Regions from separate parts of the Homo sapiens genome. Here regions 1, 2, 3, 5, 6 and 7 are each linked to region 4. Evidence: promoter capture Hi-C in 16 types of primary human blood cells and fetal thymus (Javierre and others, 2016). All regions are on one chromosome and are shown on one strand. The core of a region is centred on a gene start or on the middle of the fragment in contact, and the rest is flanking DNA. Distances in the headings are between cores, read along the strand shown.

Region 1 (2,808 bases), core at 243-2,742, 360 kb after region 4:
AAGAAATTGTGAAAAATTTAAACAGATATGACCTGCATTTTACTAAGAAACAGGCACATGTACACAATGAATTTAAAACATCTTTGGCCAGCCCTCCTACTATAAAAATATTGATATCTTCCCTTCATCTTTCAATGATACTTCAAATTGACCCCACTATATCACATGTAATTTTTTTGCAATTAATCTAAAAACGCTGAACCTAAAAGATGCTAGTTTAGTAATGGAAAAGTTATAAGAAACAAGTCTATCCAAGATAGCTTATCATATAGACTTGTTTGCCACCATTCCTGGGCCTATTTCTTCTCCTCCTTGAAATTTTTCAATCTAGAAATTCTGTGCCAATGGCACAAGTCCCCATGAATGACAGCTAACATACCCCAACACCTCCAGCCTTATTGGTCCCTCACCAATTAAGGAAAAAAAGCTGTTGAGACAATCCCAAAATTATTAGAGAAATTTTCTACTGTGATATTAATGGATTAATAATGCTTATCTTTCAACCCAACTAGAAACACTGCATTCCAAAATTATTTTTCCAACTCAATGTTTAGAACAAACATTCTTTTGAAGTTTGCCTGAGATTTCGACTTGCCATGCTATGAGAGTAAATGACCCTTGAGGAAAGGCAGTCTTTATATGATGATGTGATAACATTATTAGGTTTTGAAGTATAAAAATGCTAGAGACAGCATCAACACAACCTCTTAAAGGTTGTAACAACTGCTCCAACATGCCAGTACACCTGCACGGATAAGGCAAGATAATTTTAAACACTATTTATTGAAACATACTGAATTGGTTCTTTTCCTCTTCCAACAGTCAGGATTTAAACGTTTCTGTTCTTCAGCCAAAGCCTTTGCTTCTAATGTGTACATTCTTCTCTCTTCATTCTTCATTTTCTTCCACCTGTCACCAAGGATCACACTTATGGCTCTGTAAAATAAATATTTACACAATGCTGAAAGCACACATTTTTCATAAATCTCATGTCAAGTGCTGCTACTTCAGGAGAAAAATGTGAAGTTAAAAAAGATGAAAATCTTGTCTATCACAGAGATGGGAAAAGGTCAAGGCCATAATGCTCATTTCCAGTAAAATCCCGAATCAAATAATCCATTGTTCCGTATCAGCAGCATGAAGTATTCAACTTGTACTAAAAGCTAATCTATTTGTGCCCGTAACCTATCAAATAGTTTTGATAAAGGTCTTTTCTCATTCAATCATAGTGGAAGTGTAGAATTAACTATGCATATCTTACTATTTCTCTCTCAAGAGAAAACCAAATAAACCTTTAGACAGTATTTTTTATTACTTGAGAAAACTGGATAAACTCAAAATGCTAAGAAGTTAAACTGATAAGACTACATCATGACAAATATTAGAAGCTGTTTTCTCCTGTTTGTTACTCTGCTATGAAACCTACTAAAACAGTCTCACCTAGGCACACAGATGTAAACCACCTTCCTTCTATGAAGAGCTTTCAGCCATTCACTTCATGACACCCATATAAAACATAAGGTCCTGGAAATTTTGCACAAAGCACATCAAGTGATTTTTATACTGACTGATATGGAAGCCAAAGCAACAGGCATTTGTGCCTTCGAACAGTAAACCACAGAAGCTCTCCTACAAGTGTATTTGTCTTTTTATCCAATAACTTAATGCAGTTAAACATTGTGCTGCATTTTCCTTAATTATAAACCAATTTTTGGGCTGGACGTTGTGACTCATGCCTGTAATCCCAGCACTTTTGGAGGCCAAGGCGGGCAGATCACTTGAGGCCACGAGTTCAAGACCAGCCTGGCCGACATGGTGAAACCCCGTCACCCCATCTCTACTATTTGCCAGGTGTGATGGCACACGCCTGTAATCACAGCTACTGGGGAGGCTGAGGCACTAGAATCGCCTGAACCCGGGAGGCAGAGGTTGCAGTGAGCCGATATCCCGCCACTGCACTCCAGCCTGGGGAACAGAATGAGACTCTGTCTCAAAAATAAATAATAAAATGATAACCAATTTTTATATTCCATTTGCAGAACCCATTAAAAAAAAAACTTTTAGTCTTGGGTTACAGGTACCATATAATGGTTGACACATTTAAACAAATCAATAAATATTCACACCATCTCAGTCATCCACAGTAGGAAAGAACATGAGATGTTTTTGAAGGGGGTGGCACTTGCGAAACATTTATTATTTTAAGCTAAAAGATGACAGGTAATGAAATGTACACAATGCTGTAGACTATACTCTGTGTTCCCTAACAAATGTAAAATATACACATCTAAAGATTATTTCTGCAGTGAATGTTACATCCAGATGGACATTTATAGCAACTTAAAATGAGCTACATGTCTCTGACCTGTTCTAGTCTCCATTCCCTCAGAATTTGCCTCCAAATGAGAATTTATTCATTGAATTAAGGCAGCTTTATTAGAGACAGTGAAGAATCCAATTTCAAAATTATGATTTATCCCATTCAGTTTAGAGATAGGTGATATCTGATGGCCCTCAATGTTAGATGATTGATTACCAGTATATCACATGGGAGCAATGCTAAAATGCAAAGAAAATACCAGATTTGGCTGGGCACGGTGGCTCACATATGTAATCCCAGCACTTTGGGAGGCAGAGGTGGGCAGATCACCTGAGATCAGGAGTTCGAGACCAGCCTAGCCAACAAGGTGAAACCCCATCTCTACTAAAACTACAAAAAATTAGCCAGGTGTGGTGGTGCATGCCTATAGTTCAAGCTGCTCAGAGGCTGAGGCAGGAGAATCACTTCAACCTAGGAGGCAGCAGTTG
Region 2 (2,700 bases), core at 113-2,612, 380 kb after region 4:
TGAACTTGTTAATATTTACTGGTTATTTATCGGTTATTTTTTCCTATAAGTGCATTCCTAAAAGGCAATTCATGATACCCTTTCAGCTCCCCATAAGATGACTGGAACTATTACCCAGCTACCACTCATGCACACACCAAGCACTATAAGGAACATGAATTCCAAAATACTGAATTCTTAAAAAAAATTATATATATATTCTTTTAAAAAATCATATATATGTCTGTATGTATGTGTGTATGTAGTAGGGAAGAAAAAGCATCTTGAAGGCTTAAAAAAAAAAACTCTCCACGAAACACATACCTACAAACTCCACAAACCTATTGGGTCCCTTAAATATACAAGTCAAGAAAATTTCTAGTCTCCTAAATGTCACTATAAAAGTATGTATAACTCCTATTCAGGCAAATATTCCAGAATAGTCTACTAAAACCGAAATGTCCTATCTTAAAAAAAAAAAAATTTTTTTTTGAGATAGGGTCTTACTCTGTTGCCCAGGCTGGAGTGCAGTGGTACAATTATAGCTCACTGCAGCCTTGGACCCCTGGGCTCAAATGATCCTCACGCCTCTGCCTCTCAAGTAGCTAGGACTACAGGCATGTACCCACCATGCCCAGCTAATTTTTAAAGAAAATTTTTGTAGAGATGATATCTCACTACGTTGACCAGGCTGGTCCTGAACTCCTCCCACCTTGTCCTCCCAAAGTGCTGCGATTACTAGCGTGAACCATCATGCCAAGCCAAACTGAAATGTTTTAATTAGAAGCACTGACTCGGGATATCCATTTGTAAAAACTGACTTCTTTCATGGAGTCATGAAGGAGCCAAGGAGTTCTAGAACATCACACTAATTTAAAATAATTCTACCCTACAATTTTCATGCTGATATAGCTATTTCCTTTCCCTCACTGCCTTTGACCAACATTTATTTACTGCAAAGGGTTCATTTCTGTTTCTGAAGTTCAGGAAATTACTTTTTAAACGAAGTCATAGGTGGAAGGGGCATGTTATTTATACTCCCCTCGGCCCTAAGTTTCTGAGTTCCTCCTTAAACCAAAAACTGAGGAAGATCAACTACCTGATTAAAATGGCACTCCTTGCTCAAAAGTAACCAGTACTCAATAAATACTAGGGTCCAGAAAATCCTTGGCATTCAAGCAGGTTATGTGTCCCAAGAGCTTAAGATCTCTAAATTTCCAAACATTACCATAGTACATAATCTCCTCCATTTCATCATTTGTAAAATTAAGACAGCTGTATCTTCTCCCCAGGGTTTTTATAAACATGAAGGAAACCCCCATATATTAAATGGGGGCAAAGCCAAGCTGAAAAGCTGGGCAGCAAGCCAAGGTGACTCATTAGCTCCATACTCCTGAACACCAGCCTTGAAGCAATACAATTCAAAAACACACCTCAACAAACTTACACATTTCTAAAGGTCACATATCTCCAGGAGTAGTTTAGCAATAGTAACAACCATAAATGTCAGATCCTCAAGTTTCAAGGGTCCACTGTAATTTCCACATCATACCAGCAAATCTGCCACGAAGAGTGGCTAAGCATATTTTACTGAGCTCTCTCAAGTATATTTCAAAAGTAGCATCTTTCGAAAAGCCACGAGTGGGGTCCAATCTTTACACACAAAGTAAAGTAGTTTAATTTAACAATCTGTAAATGAGTGTCTACAATAACCATAAATAGCCCAACTCATGTTGGTTTTAAGTAGTATTTTAAAAGCAATAAAAGAATGCTGAAAATTCCTAATATACAAATACTTCATATCCCTTTCTAGCCAGTCAAGGTTGGTGGAGAAGCGGGCTAAGTAGAAAAATTTATCTGAATCTTAGTGAGATTTCTATATAACTTTTAATTTTGCTTACCAAGCTCCATGTGTTCATCACAGGAGTTATATCCAGGTGAAGATGGCAAATTCTCATTACACTGCAGCAACTCCAATGAGTCATTCATTCCTGAGGCTCTCTTGTCCATCACCAACAGGAGTTTCTGTACTGCATTAGGCATCTGATTTGTCTTCACTTCCCACACCATGTTATGGTGCTCTGACTTAAAATAAAAACGACATTAAGAAATGATGTCAAGCCATGCAATTTGGGCAGTACACAAACCTAAAATAAATCAGAGACATGACAATGTTGTTTTGTTTTTTTTTTGAGACATAGTCACACTCTGTCACCCAGACTGCAGTGCAGTGGCGTGATCTCGGCTCACTGCAAACTCCACCTCCTGGGTTCAAGCGATTCTCCCGCCTCAGCCACCTAAGTAGGGGGGATTACAGGCACATGCCACCACGCCGAGCTAATTTTTGTATTTTTAGTAGAGATGGGGTTTCGTCATGTTGGCCAGGCTGGTCTTGAACTCCTGACCTCAAGATATCCGCCCACCTGGGCCTCCCAGAGTGCTGGGATTACAGGCGTGAGCCACCACGCCCGGCCACAGTGTTAGATTTTAACTTAATCATACACTGCCATTTATAGCTCCCTCAAATCCTTTAGACCCGGATGACTCCTTAACATCTTGGCCTACAACTGAATACTCAGCACTAAATCACATTTCAATCCCAAAAGATTAATATCTTGAATTATAAAAAAAAGTCTTTTCTGCTGAGGAAAAATGGCATTGTATATACTTTTATTTAACCTAGTAACCGTCCTTTCAGATGCAAAAACTGAGACTAATAGG
Region 3 (2,700 bases), core at 133-2,632, 310 kb before region 4:
TTTTTTTTTTTTCTGAGATGGAGTCTTGCTCTGTCACCCAGGCTGGAGTGCAGTGATATAATCTCGGCTCACTGCAACTTCCGCCTCCTGGGTTTAAGCAATTTCCTGCCTCAGCCTCCCAAGTAGCTGGGACTACAGGCAGGCACGCACCACAGCACCCGGCTAATTTTTGTATTTTTGGTAGAGACGGGATTTCACTATGATGGCCAGGCTGGTCTTGAACTCCTGACCTCAGGTGATCCGCCCTCCTCGGCCTCCCAAAGTACTGGGATTACAGGCGTGAGCCATTGCGCCTGGCAATTTTGTTTGTTTGCTTAAATTTTATGGAAAATTTCAAACATACACAAAACAAAGTAGCATAATAAACCTTCATAAATCCTTCACTGAGTTTAAACCATGATCAGATTATAGCCAATATTGCTTTACTGCTCACTTCCCTTCCATTTTATTTTGAGACAAATCCCAGTAGTCATATAATTTCACCTATAACTAGTTCAGTGTGTATCTGTAAAGGATAAGGATTTTTTTAATATAAGGATTTAAAAAAAACAAAATAAAATTTAATTCCATAATGTTATCAAATTTCCAGTCACTGTTCAAATTTCCATTAAGACTTGTTATTCTTCTTAACAATAACATTGACAGCGTTCTTTATATACATCAGGCACTGTGCCAAATAATTTATAAACACTATGCAATTTAATCTTCACAATAACGCTATGAAGAAGGTAGCATTATTATCCTATATTTTATAGCTGAAGGAACTAAGGCTCAGAGATGTTAAGAAATTTTCTCTGGTCAATGCCTTCAGAAGGTGAAGAAAATCTGCAGAAACAGAAACCAAGGTCACTTACAGTGGATTGCTGACAGGATAATAGGGTTATATTTAAAGGAAATCTATCTGTTCTGTAGCTGACAACAACAACAACATTCTGTTAGACGTAGGCCTGATAATCCATAATGCACAACTATTAAGATTTTTCTGTATTCTGTAATAAATAAGAATTCTAAAGAAAAGTCATTTCAGGATGCAGTTGAGGAGGTGTCTTGCCAGAAGTATAAAGGGGCCCACAAATGACCAGCTTCATTTTTTCGGTTATGAACCTGTAATATGTGACACAACCAATAGATGGCGGCAACATGGCAGCAATATTAAACGTCTCTGATCCTATCTTGCTCTATCCAGTAACAACCCTGCTTCACTCTGGATTGCTCCAGCATATTTCAGCAGATGTCTCAGTACTCTGAGCACTCTAAAGGTAATTTTGGGAACACAGAAAAAATGAAAGTGTAGGTTAGTGTTTCTCAAAGTATGTCTCACAGGCCCTCCACCCCCCAACACATCATCAGTTGGAAGCCTTGTTAAAATGATGAGTTTTGATGACTTGGTACAAGAAATGATATAAAACATTTTAATCATCATTTATGTTGATTACATGCTGAAAGAATAACATTTTGGATATACTAGGTTAAATAGAATGTATCATTATATTTAATTTCACCTTTTTTTTCACTTTTTAAAGTGTGGCTACCAGAAAATGTAAGATTACATATGTGGCTTATATCTGTGCCTCACATTTATGGCTCCCCTTATATTTCTATTGGACATGTCTGCCCTGTAGAGATGTGACTCAAGCCTGGCCAATCAGAGCAACACATTCCCATGGCCACAGGAATCGGTTTAGGGACTTAGGACAGAATGAGAAAGAATGAAACACACCCTTGTTCCTTTGAGATGTCCATCTGAGTGGATATAGAAACTGAAGCCATTGCAACTGCCTTGCCTCCATGCGTGGTCCTATGATGGAGCAAACTCTAAGGAATTAGAGGTAATCAAGGAGAGAAATGGCATCACAGTGATACGGAGTCCTGGATGATGTTGTGCCTGTCCTTATTTCTGTTTCTGGACTCCCCAGTTATATGAGCTGATACCTTCTCCTTTTTGCTTAATCTAATTTTGGTTAGAATTTCTATTGCCTGTAACAGAAAAATGCCTAAATCAGTACATTGGCATTAGTGAATGAACTTTGTGAACCAATTTCAGTTAAAAAGAAGCCATAATTTAAGGGATTGAAAGCAGAGTGATAAGGAAATATAGGCAGAAAATGTAAACATGATGTTTGGTGGTAAAAGGAAAGATAGGCCGGGCATGGTGGCTCACGCCTGTAATCCCAGCACTTTGGGAGGCCCAGGTGGGCGGATCACAAGGTCAGGAGTTGAAGACCAGCCTGACCAACATGGTGAATCCCCATCTCTACTAAAAATACAAAAATTAGCCAGGTGTGGTAGTGCGTGCCTGTAGTCCCAGCTACTCAGGAGGCTGAGGCAGGAGAATCCCTTGAACCCAGGAGGCGGAGCTTGCGGTGAGCTGAGATTTCACCATTGCACTCCAGCCTGGGCGACAGAGTGAGACTCTGTCTCCAAAAAAAAAAAAGAGATAGCTAAGTCAGGGTCTGCTCAAAGGAGTATTGGTTCAAAGGAAGCAGATTTTCTGTTTGTTGGTTTGGGGAGATCTGTAATATCCTCATTGCCTAGTTTTCCCTGGTTTGGGGTAAAAAAGAAACAAGGAATGTCTTCTCATCACCCTCTCAAAAGTGTAGCATTAAAGTCTAGGCTTTCCTTATCTTAGAAAAGAGACTTCTTGAAGTAACCCAAGCAACAAGTGATACATTCCTGAACTACGTTCATAGAGGTGGAGGG
Region 4 (2,700 bases), core at 85-2,584:
TTGAGTCTTATGTTTGTAAACTCATGAGAGCATGCAGAGTAGAGGGGTCAAAACTTTCGCTGTATGAATGAATATTACTCACTCTTCTAAAATCTTCCACTGGGGGGAATAAAGCCAAGGAAGGAAAAACAATTCCTAATTCACAAGTAATGAATGAATCACCCCTATTCCCATCATGACTAAGATCTTACATACTAGGGAAAATCCTCTGAGACAAAGAGAGCATAATGCAGTGTAGCATAAGACTTGCTTACCTGAGGTGTTATGAGTATGAAATGCATTGAGTTATAAAATACTTAGAACAGCGATAAGCACAGGATAAGTAATAGCACCTTTTTGAAACAGAATGTAGAAAACCACGTAGCTCTGGAACTGGATAAAATTGGTTTCCTGGATACATACCTACTGTACAAAATGAAAAAGTCATCTTCCAGCTTCTTTTTGCGAAGAAGCTTAAGACTGTCTTGCATACTTGTGGTTGCCTGACCCTGTTAATTTATCAGTATTTATCTTAGAAGAAAGAAATCTAGGTCAAAAACGCGAACGTATTAGTAAAGAAGATACAATGGGAACCAACCTGATGCTCTTACAGCGTCAATACTGTTAGTTGAGATGTGGACCATCTATCAGTTTGTAATTAAGAAAAAGTCTGGCACGTGACTGAAACTGAGGAAGAAGTAGAAAAGGCAAAAGGTCAAAGGTCTCATGGGAAGGAAGGAGGGTAGAGACAGTGAGTTTTATTGGTCCTTTTATGGTTCAGACTTCCTTCTTCATCGACTCTCCCTAATTCTCTTCACTGTTCATCCCCAGCAACTTTTCTTCCCAAGCATTTCCTGCGGGCTTTTATTACCCCAGGAGTGCCAATCAAGGCGTGGAACAGATAAAGCTGTGTAGCAACTAACGCGTGACTCTTGTGAGTGTGGAGGGCAAACGAAGCTCCCTGAAACCTCCGCTCTGCTCTCCTGCCTTACGCCGCGCGGCCCCTGTTCTGAGGTTTAATACTTGCTTCACAGATAAGCGCTGCGGCCACGTTCCGGTGCCCACCTTCTCCTTGGCTAGGGCACGACGCCAGCCCAGGGGGCGCGGCCCTGAGCTGCTGCGAGAGACAGCTGAAAGCGCCGGCCCGACGGCCTTGGCTCCCTCGGTGCGCTGGGCGCAGAGCACTCGGACCCTGGGCGCCCACTGCTCGAGTACCTGCGCGGCTCCTAGCCAGGCTTAGCCCAGGCGCGGGCTGAGAGTCAGTTCGCCAGGTGGGCCTGGAGCCATGGGCTGGGTGGGCGGGCGGCGCCGGGATTCTGCGTCACCACCTGGGCGGAGCCGTTCTGCTGCTGACGACATCAACCCGGCACCTGCCAACATGGAAGGTGGCGGCGGCAGCGTCGCTGTAGCTGGCCTCGGAGCTCGAGGCTCTGGAGCGGCTGCAGCTACAGTCCGGGAACTTCTGCAGGACGGTAAGGAGACGGGGTCTGACCAGGTCGTGGGGTTGGGGGTCTGCGCTGCTCCGCACCTGGACAGCGAGGTGGACCCAACCCGTTGCTTTGCAGAAAGTTTTCCAGTCTGGACGTGACCACTCCCCTCCGCCCGGCCCCCTGGCTTGGGTACTGTTCTAGCCAACCTATTTACTCTGGGACTGGCTCCCTCTTTTCTGGAGTCTTGGGGACACTTGGTTTCTGTGTGTTCCTCATTTCAACTCGACCCCCCCCCCCCCCATGCCTCCAGCTTCCCTGAAGTTTCGGGAGCCCAAACCCTGTGGACCGCGTTGGCAGCCACCGGCTGCTGCCGCAGTTCTTGACGAAGGGGTGTAGCGTTCGAGCTCTTCAAAAGTGTAAGCTCTAGAACAGACGGCAGACGCATAATGAAATAGGGCCTTGTTTTAAAGTAGAGCTGGAAACGCTTACTCCTTTAACAAATGGACTGTACAGGTGACCCCTCTTACAGGCTGGTTTTTTTTTTCCTCCTTTATGAGGCAGTTATCTACAGTGACACGTGGGGGAGGGTTTGAGACATTTGTTCAGGTTGGGATTAACCATTTGTACAGAATCTAGCAGTCAGATTTTATTGCTAGTCAGTTTGGAGAGAAGTTGCCCAAAATAAGAAAAGTTAGATATAATATACTTGAAAAGCATATTCAGTTGTGTCAATCCAGTTACCATGTCCCGAATCTCTTATCCTTCAGAATAAAGTTCACATTTATAAGCATAAAAATAAAGCCCTTCTCACCTGTTCTTAATTTTTTCTCTAGTGGCCATCGCATTCTACCTTGTACTAAAATCATTTGTATACTTGTTTTAATCTCTTCTGTATTGCAAACTTTTTTTAATATCCCACAGTGTGAATAGCAGTATCTTGCATACAGTAGGTGCAGAATGTTTTTTAAATTCATCATCGCAGTTAGAAGCACATGCACACATTTGAAGACCGAAGTGGGTAATAAATGAAATAAAGTTCCAAATTATTGTTTATTTTCTCTGACTGTTAAATATTTTATTGTCATCCTGAATTACGTGCCTTTTCATGATAATTTATGTACTTTTGTCAAAAGCAATGATGTTTTCTGAACTATTTCATGTTGGAAACTCTAGGACCGGGTCTCTGTCTAAAACTTGGCTAAACTGAATTTAAACTTTAGATACAAGGCAGAGACCCTGATATATTTGCAGTTGCTCCTGATACACGTGCAATTTTTGCCCTCAAGTAGTT
Region 5 (2,777 bases), core at 62-2,561, 290 kb before region 4:
CAAACCCCAGCCCGTCTAATGCCCAGCTCATACTTTTCTACTCCACCATGCTGCTCCCGGGGTTTCTGCACTCAGAATATGTGTACATGGAGATTGTTCACAAAGGGCCAATATGAGAGCGTTTCTACAAACCATTCGGTGCTTATTCCAGGGTAAGTGAAAGATCTGTCAGGCAATTAAATAAAATCCAGTTTGTTGAGGTATAACTTGCGTACACACAATTTATCCTGTTTAGCCAACCAATTCTATGATTTTTAACACGAAACTGCCATCAGAAACAAAATATAGAAGGGTTCCATCATCCAAAAAAGTTCCCTTATGTCCCTTTATAGTCAGCCCTTAACATCCCAAACCCAGTTTCTGGTAACTACTGATCTATTTTTTATCCCTATGGTTTTGTCTTTTCCAGAATGCCATGTAGGTGGAACTTTACACTATGTAGTTGAGAGTCATGCATGTGGTTCCCTAATCATTCGTTCATTTATCGGGTAAATTTTACTGAATGTTAAATTTGTTAAGTTATCAGATAGTCAATAAATATGTATTAGGCTGGGTACTGCTCCAGGTATGGGGGGACAGGAGTGGGAACAGCAGGGACCGCAAGGATCTGAGTTCCTGCCTTCAATGAGCTCATGTTCTCATATTGGGCTGGTTTGTGGGTTGGGGGAAAACAAGCAAAAAACACATAAACAGGGCTTTAAAATAATTTAGTTTTAAGTCCTGCTAAGTGCCAGACGTGGCTCTAATAGGATAATGAGAGAGTGGTAGAAATGGGCAGAGAGGCCGGGTGCAGTGGGTCACGCCTGTAATCCCAGCACTTTGGGAGGCCGAGGTGGGCAGATCACGAGGTCAGGAGATCCGGACCATCCTGGCCAACACGGTGAAACCCCGTCTCTACTGAAAACACAAAAAATTAGCTGGGCGTGGTGGCGGGCGCCTGTAGTCCCAGCTACTCCAGAGCCTGAGGCAGGAGAATCACTTGAACCCGGGAGGCAGAGGTTGCAGTGAGCCGAGATTGCACCACCGCATTCCAGCCTGGGTGACAAGCAAGACTCCATCTCAACAAAAAAAAGAAGTGGGCAGAGAGTGCTGATTTATCTAGAGTGGTTTGTTGAGTGGATGTGAATTGAGACCCAGATAATGAGAGGGGGACAGCCGTGCAAAGATCTAGGCAAGAGGCACGCAGCAGAAGGAGGAACAAGTGCAAAGGCCCAGAGCAGGGCTGAGCTTGGTGCATTCGTTCAAGAGATAGAAAGCTGAAGGGACTGGAGTGCTGAGGACCAGGAAGCAAGTTGTGGGTCACTTGGGAGAGCCATGAAGGAGCCCAATCAGGCGGGTTTGGTAGGCCAAGACTGGAGGGTAAGTTTTTCTCTAGTTGTAAGAGGAAGCCTTGGAGAGTTTTAAACCAGAGAGTTATGTAACCTGATTTACACCTGGTAAAGATACCTCTGCCTGCTGCGTGTTGTATGGACTGTGCTTGACAGGGAGGAGAGTGGGATAAGACTGGAGGCAGGAGATGGGCCTGGAGGCTTCCTCAGTGTTGAAGGGGGAGCTGACGGTGACTTGAACCAGATTGTGGCACTGCAAATGGTGAGAAGTGTTGGAACTTACTACTTTCGTGGTGTGGTGGATAAAGAAAAAGAATCCCAAAAGCAGTTACATTTTAGTATTTATTTTAAAAGCTGACTTCAAAAATCTCATTGATGCAAATCTGGAGAAATACACAAAAGTTTAAAACTCTCTATAATACAAAGTAGGTTGGTGACTAATTTGCACAATGCAAGTAAACTAGTCTTGATACTCGAGGTCAAAAAGCCTAAACTTGGGGATTAATTTAGTTTTGCTGTATACACTGACGGAAATAATCCAGTAGCCTCCATAGCCCCCACTCCACTTTGTGTTATGAGGACAGCAGGCAGTCAGCACACATGCACTGACTCATATGATACCCACATTCAAAGAGCTTTAACGTGTTGGTTGGATTCCAAAGTAAAAAGAATAGAGACTCATTGCCATGGTTGTACCTGGTCAAGGTCACACCCCAGCCACACTTCTGAGCCATTTGGCTTAGAAATGGGAAACATTATAAAGTTGAGTCAGGAATATGGCAAACCTCCAACCAGAGTAAACTATTTAAAAAATTCACATTTTCTTGTGGCCTTCAGTTTTTTCTCCTTGACATCCTCTGTTCTATCAAGACATTAAGTCCCATGGCCCATGCAAAAGACACTTGGTGCTGTGTTCTGAGATTATCATTTTGATCTACATCTGACTACCATTTTTCCAGCCAAGACCAGCCTTCCTTGTAAATAAAGATCTGTTCAGAGGATATGAAAGAATACATATTCAAGGAGTGCTCTATTCCTTTAGCTGTTCAAAGGATTTGAGGACTTTGTTTGTTTTGAAACAAGTAACCGGCTTTCTCTAACCACGTAACCTCAACCTCACAGGACAGCCAGCAGGAAGTCAGAAATGAAGAACAGCCGATGACCTGGGTGCACTCTCTGGGTGCAGCCTGCTGTTGTCCTGTCCCCACCCTTGTCCTGTTTTTCACTTGTCTTGTTGTTTTTAAGAAAAATTTTTGTCTGCTCTGAGGATCTTCTGCTGATCTCAGGTTTTTCTTTCAGGTAATACATATGACAGGTGCTGGACAGAGCTGAACTGGAACAAGGGTCTGCAGCCATTCACAGAGGGCATGTCAATCTGTGTTCACTCAGGCAGGAGGCAGGAACATGCAGGATGGGAATGGGAAAGTAAACAGGAGTGGCCATGGACTC
Region 6 (2,700 bases), core at 58-2,557, 340 kb after region 4:
ATTTCTCAATAAGGATAAGATAACAGAGTACAGGTATGCAGCTTTCTAAAAACCAACTCAGTACTGGAAACTAGAGGATCAATAAGCAGTATGTCCTTTAAATGATCGCTTTGCTCTCTTCTGTCATCAAGCTTTGGTAGTAGAAACTTCTGGTGGAATATAAGAAATATAAGAATCCAATATTGTTGATTGAGAGGGAATCCGTATATTTTACCTCGCCTGTTTGTAATTAGCACAGGCCTTTTTTTTTTTTTAATGGCAACACAAGAGTCTGGATTTTATTTTTTCTCAAATGAAAGATCACTGCCCATCTGTACAGAGATGAGTTTTAGGAAAACTTAAAGTGAGATCACAAATGCTTTCAGATACCTTCTTTGTATCAGCTCAAATCTTTTTAAAACTGTTTAAGTATTTTGTTGAAGCTATAGAGTTCTGCACTACCAAACATGGGCGAGTTGAAGGATGATGAGGTCCTGAGGTTGCCAATCCATTGGTCATCTGTTTGTACCATAAAAGTTACTTTACTAAAACCCCTGTACAGTCATTTACTCTTGAGTAAGATGGTAACACAGCAATCCTAGCTGGGTAATAAAATGTTGCCCTGGCTGGCTGAGTCAGTTAACATACTGGAGGATATTAACCATCTAGTTATTGAAAAAGGTATGAGAAAAGCTGTGATTTAGCATTGCTATAGGAAGATTTGGCTTTTTTTTTTTTTTTTTTTGAGACCGGGTGTCACTCTGTCACCCAGGTTAGAGTGCAGTGGTGCGATCTCCATCTCAGCTTACTGCAACCTCCACCTTGCATGCCCAAGTGATCCTCCCGCCTCAGCCTCCTGAGTAACTGGGACTACAGGTGTGTGCCACCATGCCCAGCTAATTTTTATATTTTTTTGTAGAAACAAAGTTTCACCATGTTGCCCAGCCTGGTCTTGAATTTCTGAGCTCAAGCTATCTGCCCGCCTCAGCCCCCCAGACTGCTGGGATTACAAGTATGGCAGGTGTAAGCCACCACACCTGGCCTAGGCTATTATTTTTTATAGCCCCAGTCCCATGTTTAGTTGTTTATTGCATTATTGCACGTGCATGTATAAAATAATGCTAATTCAGCCTGGCCAACATGGTGAAACCCCATCTCTACCAAAAAGTACAAAAATTAGCCAGGCATGGCAGCACACATCTGTAGTCCCAGCTACTTGGAAGGCTGAGGTGGGAGAATCACTTTAACCCGGGAGCTGGAGGTTACAGTGAGTCGAGATTGTGCCACTGCACTGCAGCCTTGGTGACAGACTGAGACCCTTTACCGCCCACCACCCACACCCCCCGCCCCAAAAAAAAATAGTGCTAAGTTTCCTGTTTGCTGAGGCAGGATGACCTTCATGTAAGCACTCTTAAAGTTGTGTCATAGTATGGAGATACAAGGTCTGAGGATAAGTTTCACTTAAGACATCTATTTTAAGCCATTTAAGATGGAAATTTTCTGCCAACCCTTTCCAATTCTCACATGAGAGAAAGAATCTCTAAAGGAACATTTAAAGTTTGGGTGACACCTTCTAATACCTATTTATAGAATCAAGAATCGCTTGATCAATGTATAATTTTAATAGTTCTACTTTTTTTTTTATATCTAGCTTCTTATGGCGTAACAGTTTTCAAACTTTTGACCATGACCCACAGTAAAAGATACTTTCTATTGATATTTGGCATATACTTGTATGCAAACACATGAACACACTCAAATCTATATACATATACATGGACACCCATATGTATGGTTCATGAAATAGTAAGTACCCTTACTTCATGTGATAACCTCTAACATTTCTATTTCATTTGATTATTTTAACCCACTAAATTAGTTTAATGACCCACTCATGGCCTGCATCCAGCCATTTCTCAGATTTCTCACGAGGCCCTTAACTCTTGAACTTTAGTTGCTCTAGTGACAGGGAGCCAAGTTTTTTCCTTTCCACAAACTGTGAAGATTTATACCCTTTTCTCTTGGGATTCTGGTATCTCTGAGGTTCCTCCTGCAGATGACGTCTTAGCTCCCAAGGCCTCAGGCACATAAGAATAATTGTTTCTTGCCTATGGAGTATCCTTCATAGCTTGAGTTAATTGAAAAATTCCAACAGAGGTATTTTTCTATATACCATTATATTTCTATATTTATATTGAATCTACAGAAATCTACTGAATTAATCCTAGTGCTTTCTCAGTTGTTTGATGGGACTGATACAACTATTTTATAAAAAGCGTAGGATTAGGATTAACTGGATCAAGAAATAAAACAGAAGTATAATATATTAAGGGGTTCAAATCCAGCCCTGGTCTACAAAGAATGTTTTCAGTCCTATCAGATGAGAAGAAGAGAGATGTGAGCATGTGCTGCGGCCTCTGCCCCGCACCATTGTTGGGAAAGCCCTGGCCCTGCCAGCTTCTTTGCAGTTGTCATGTAAAGAGAATTGACTTGAGAAAGCTTACCCATGTGGCGGGTCCTACCAAATTCCTTCCTAGAGAGGAGTAAATCAGTACAGAGCCATCTTTATTCTAATAACCTAATTATAGGCCCTCTGTTTTACCTACCTGCAAAATCTTGTTAGAGATCTGTCTCTTCTTTAAAATGAGTCCTGAGCAGTTGCAGTGAAAAGCTTACTCTTATTAATATGTGCACTTCTTCCATCTGTGCTGTGGGCTGTGA
Region 7 (2,788 bases), core at 232-2,731, 360 kb before region 4:
TTTTTTTCACCATCTTCCACATTTTACATTTGAAACTCCTTGGCTTTGTTGACAACCCATTATTCCGGTTCTCCTGCTTCTATAATTTTCTCCCTTTCTATAATTTCCTGAATCTAGATCATTTGTAGGAAATATCAAATCTCCATATCTGCATTCACAAGTTTCTGAGCTATTCGTCCAACCTCAATTAAAAGATTTCATTGCCTTTAAGTCTCAGCTTTAAGCTCTGGCCCTCTATGGTTTTCCACAATGTTCAGATTCACTCTGCTATACTTTCCCGTAACATACTCTGCCGTTCCTGTCTCCCCATCTGGAATTGTCCTTTCTTCTTTCAAATTCTATTATCCCTTAAAATCTGATCAGCTCCTCATCTTCCACGAAGGTTTCCCTCACTACCCAGCCTAAAACAAATTCTAGTAGTACTCAATTGTCTGCAGTTACTTTTTTGTGTGTGTAGGTCTCATCTCCCCTCAAAATCCCAGATAGATTATAAACTCTTAAACAGGAAGTTAGTGTCTCTTGGTGTGTAACCCCACCATGCTAGTCCATAGTAGATGACCAGTAAGTGGTTGAATGAATGAACCATCTATTCTTTTCACCTCTTTTTGGGGACATCTTTGCTTTTCACAGAGGATAGTGCTGATTTGGACAGCATTGAAGCAGTTGCTAATGAAGTATTGAAAATGGAGATGCCTAGCACCCCACAGCAGTTACAGAACTTGACAGAAGATATACGTGAACGAGTTGAAAGCCTTTCTCAAGTAGAGGTTATTCTTCAGCATAGTGCTGCTGACATTGCCAGAGCTGAGATGTTGTTAGAAGAAGCTAAAAGAGCAAGGTATCTAAAGACATGGCATCTAAGGGGCTTATTTTGTGTATCTATCATGGAGTAAAAAGTATCTCTTTAACCAATGAAACTTCTAAGAAGGACCTATGCGAGTCTCTCTGGGTCATTTCAGGAAGGCTATTCTTTAAAGAAAAGAACACTGAGAGTACTTTTTTCATGTTCAGCAACAATATACTGTCTCATTATTTTTTACTCAGCAAAAGTGCAACAGATGTTAAAGTCACTGCAGATATGGTAAAGGAAGCTCTGGAAGAAGCAGAAAAGGCCCAGGTCGCAGCAGAGAAGGCAATTAAACAAGCAGATGAAGACATTCAAGGAACCCAGAACCTGTTAACTTCGGTAGGCATACACAATCATTACATGAATGGGAACACACCTACATATACACTTACCAGAAAAGTACATTTGTTATCTATGAACAGAAATTCTTACAACTCAACATTAAAGGATTCCTTTAATAAATCTAAACTACTCCGTTAGCATGGATGCTAAAAATAAGTGGAGATAGGTTTTCAAGGAATAAAAGGACTCTGATTCAGACACTGGACCATTACGTCCCATCTCATTTTCTCCCCCACAAAGTCTGAGAAAGATAAAAACTTCTATTCTTGGGCGGGCATGGTGGCTCACGCCTGTAATTCCAGCATTTTGGGAGGCCGAGGTGGGTGGGTCATTTGAGGTCAGTAGTTCAAGACCAGCGTGGCCAACATGGCAAAACCCCTTCTCTACTAAAGATACAAAAGTTAGCTGGGCATAGTGGTGTGTGCCTGTAGTCCCAGCTACCTGGGAGGCTAAGGCAGGAGAATTGCTTGAACCGGGGAGGTCGAGGTTGCAATGAGCTGAGATCACACCACTGTACTCCAGTCTGGGCAACAGAGACTCCATCTCAAAAAAAAAAAAAGCACTCCTATTCATTGAGGAAACAGCATATACTCTGTTCAGTAGTATGAAGTATAATAATTTTAGAAAACTGTCCTGATGTTATAAAGCAGCTTATCTGGTTAAGAAGGCCAATGTCTCAAGATTTTGGTCATCAAACATTTTACTATATAGTAGTTTTGGAAACTATGGGAGAACAGTCAGTCTGCTTTCAATACCCAATTCTAGAGAAACCTAATAGAGCACTTATAGCTAAACAATCTGTTCTGTTTAGAATGCATGGAAAACTTAATGTTTTTTATAAGAAATATACTGTGACTACCAGATATTAAAAGTACTCATTACGAATTTTTCATAGGGATCTAGCACCTTGCTCTAAAAATCCTCTTTATCTCTTAAAAGAAGTAATGCAAACATAATTCCATTAAATTCTTTTGTTTCTCAGAAAGTTAATGTTTTCGTTCCAATTTTACGAGTTTTTAAAAAATGAAGAAAATTGATGAGTTATCTAATCCCTATACAGGTTCTCAGAATATACTTTGAAATTAAATGCTCCCATACCCAGCATTGTCAGCCTTCTCAGGCCAATCCTCCATGTGTTTAAAACCTGGGAAGATGAATTTTCAACATGCTTTTCTTACCATTAGTTGGTAAAAACCTGTGTTCCCCTATTCTATTGCTGTCAGTTAAATGAAGGCCAATAATTCTGTCCATTTTCCTCCTTAAATTTCGAGTATCAATAAGACTTTTTCTTCAGGCTATTTGTTCAAGTTTAGAAAAATTATGTTTTCCCACCAGACTATAAATATTTTGATGTTTCGATCTCTAGGTTTTTCCATTTTCTCAGTTTGCTGTTAATATTTTAGTGAATATTATGTCAGTGACTGTAGAAATTATTGTTTTGAAAGCCAGGTGCAGCAGTGTGTGCCTGTAGTCCCAGCCACTTGGGAGGTGGAGGTGAGAGGATCACTTAAGGCCAAGAGTTTGAGACTATAGTGCACTATGATCATGCCTGTAAACAAACAGTCACTGCACTCCAGCCTGGGAAATATAGCAAGACCC

Evidence for each region. The method cuts DNA at HindIII sites, captures the fragments that hold promoters and counts their contacts. A CHiCAGO score of 5 or more calls a contact.
Region 1: a contact is called between a fragment that was not itself captured here and the fragment with the promoter of COG5 in region 4, in 3 of 17 cell types (megakaryocytes, M2 macrophages and M1 macrophages). The highest score is 8.3, in megakaryocytes.
Region 2: a contact is called between a fragment that was not itself captured here and the fragment with the promoter of COG5 in region 4, in 1 of 17 cell types (fetal thymus). The highest score is 5.3, in fetal thymus.
Region 3: a contact is called between a fragment that was not itself captured here and the fragment with the promoter of COG5 in region 4, in 10 of 17 cell types (non-activated CD4 T cells, erythroblasts, naive CD8 T cells and 7 more). The highest score is 12.4, in non-activated CD4 T cells.
Region 5: a fragment that was not itself captured here is called in contact with the fragment with the promoter of COG5 in region 4 in 2 of 17 cell types (non-activated CD4 T cells and total CD8 T cells); the score reaches 6.6 in non-activated CD4 T cells.
Region 6: a fragment that was not itself captured here is called in contact with the fragment with the promoter of COG5 in region 4 in 1 of 17 cell types (M1 macrophages); the score reaches 5.2 in M1 macrophages.
Region 7: a contact is called between a fragment that was not itself captured here and the fragment with the promoter of COG5 in region 4, in 1 of 17 cell types (total CD4 T cells). The highest score is 5.5, in total CD4 T cells.

Annotation. Positions count from the first base shown.
Region 1 is chr7:107,198,288-107,201,095 of GRCh38, reverse strand. HBP1 (HMG-box transcription factor 1) reads right to left here. Exons shown (of 11, transcript NM_012257.4): 10 at 795-936. Among named protein-coding and RNA genes, the nearest start is that of HBP1, 31 kb to the right of the region's middle. The HindIII fragment of the contact is 8,021 bases long and covers 1-2,808 here.
Region 2 is chr7:107,179,243-107,181,942 of GRCh38, reverse strand. It overlaps HBP1 (HMG-box transcription factor 1), which reads right to left. Exons shown (of 11, transcript NM_012257.4): 2 at 1,881-2,064. The coding sequence starts at 2,049. Among named protein-coding and RNA genes, the nearest start is that of HBP1, 12 kb to the right of the region's middle. The HindIII fragment of the contact is 5,152 bases long and covers 1-2,700 here.
Region 3 is chr7:107,873,250-107,875,949 of GRCh38, reverse strand. LOC105375445 (a long non-coding RNA gene) reads left to right here and starts at 1,715. Exons shown (of 3, transcript XR_927851.2): 1 at 1,715-1,829. The HindIII fragment of the contact is 5,783 bases long and covers 1-2,700 here.
Region 4 is chr7:107,562,554-107,565,253 of GRCh38, reverse strand. It overlaps COG5 (component of oligomeric golgi complex 5), which reads left to right and starts at 1,334. Exons shown (of 22, transcript NM_006348.5): 1 at 1,334-1,451. The coding sequence starts at 1,358. It overlaps DUS4L-BCAP29 (DUS4L-BCAP29 readthrough), which reads right to left and starts at 1,283. Exons shown (of 13, transcript NR_163941.2): 1 at 1,045-1,283; 2 at 578-666. DUS4L (dihydrouridine synthase 4 like) reads right to left here and starts at 1,283. Exons shown (of 8, transcript NM_181581.3): 1 at 1,045-1,283; 2 at 578-666. RefSeq lists enhancers at 1-756, 1,287-1,406 and silencers at 1,107-1,206, 1,245-1,455. The HindIII fragment of the contact is 2,647 bases long and covers 455-2,700 here.
Region 5 is chr7:107,856,967-107,859,743 of GRCh38, reverse strand. LOC105375444 (a long non-coding RNA gene) reads left to right here. Exons shown (of 3, transcript XR_927850.3): 3 at 2,628-2,777. Among named protein-coding and RNA genes, the nearest start is that of DLD, 33 kb to the left of the region's middle. The HindIII fragment of the contact is 3,556 bases long and covers 1-2,777 here.
Region 6 is chr7:107,226,331-107,229,030 of GRCh38, reverse strand. All of the region lies in intron 19 of COG5 (component of oligomeric golgi complex 5), which reads left to right. LOC124901721 (a long non-coding RNA gene) reads right to left here. Exons shown (of 3, transcript XR_007060472.1): 2 at 2,586-2,694. Among named protein-coding and RNA genes, the nearest start is that of HBP1, 59 kb to the right of the region's middle. The HindIII fragment of the contact is 2,347 bases long and covers 134-2,480 here.
Region 7 is chr7:107,927,462-107,930,249 of GRCh38, reverse strand. LAMB1 (laminin subunit beta 1) reads left to right here. Exons shown (of 34, transcript NM_002291.3): 30 at 631-838; 31 at 1,045-1,186. Among named protein-coding and RNA genes, the nearest start is that of DLD, 38 kb to the right of the region's middle. The HindIII fragment of the contact is 2,992 bases long and covers 1-2,788 here.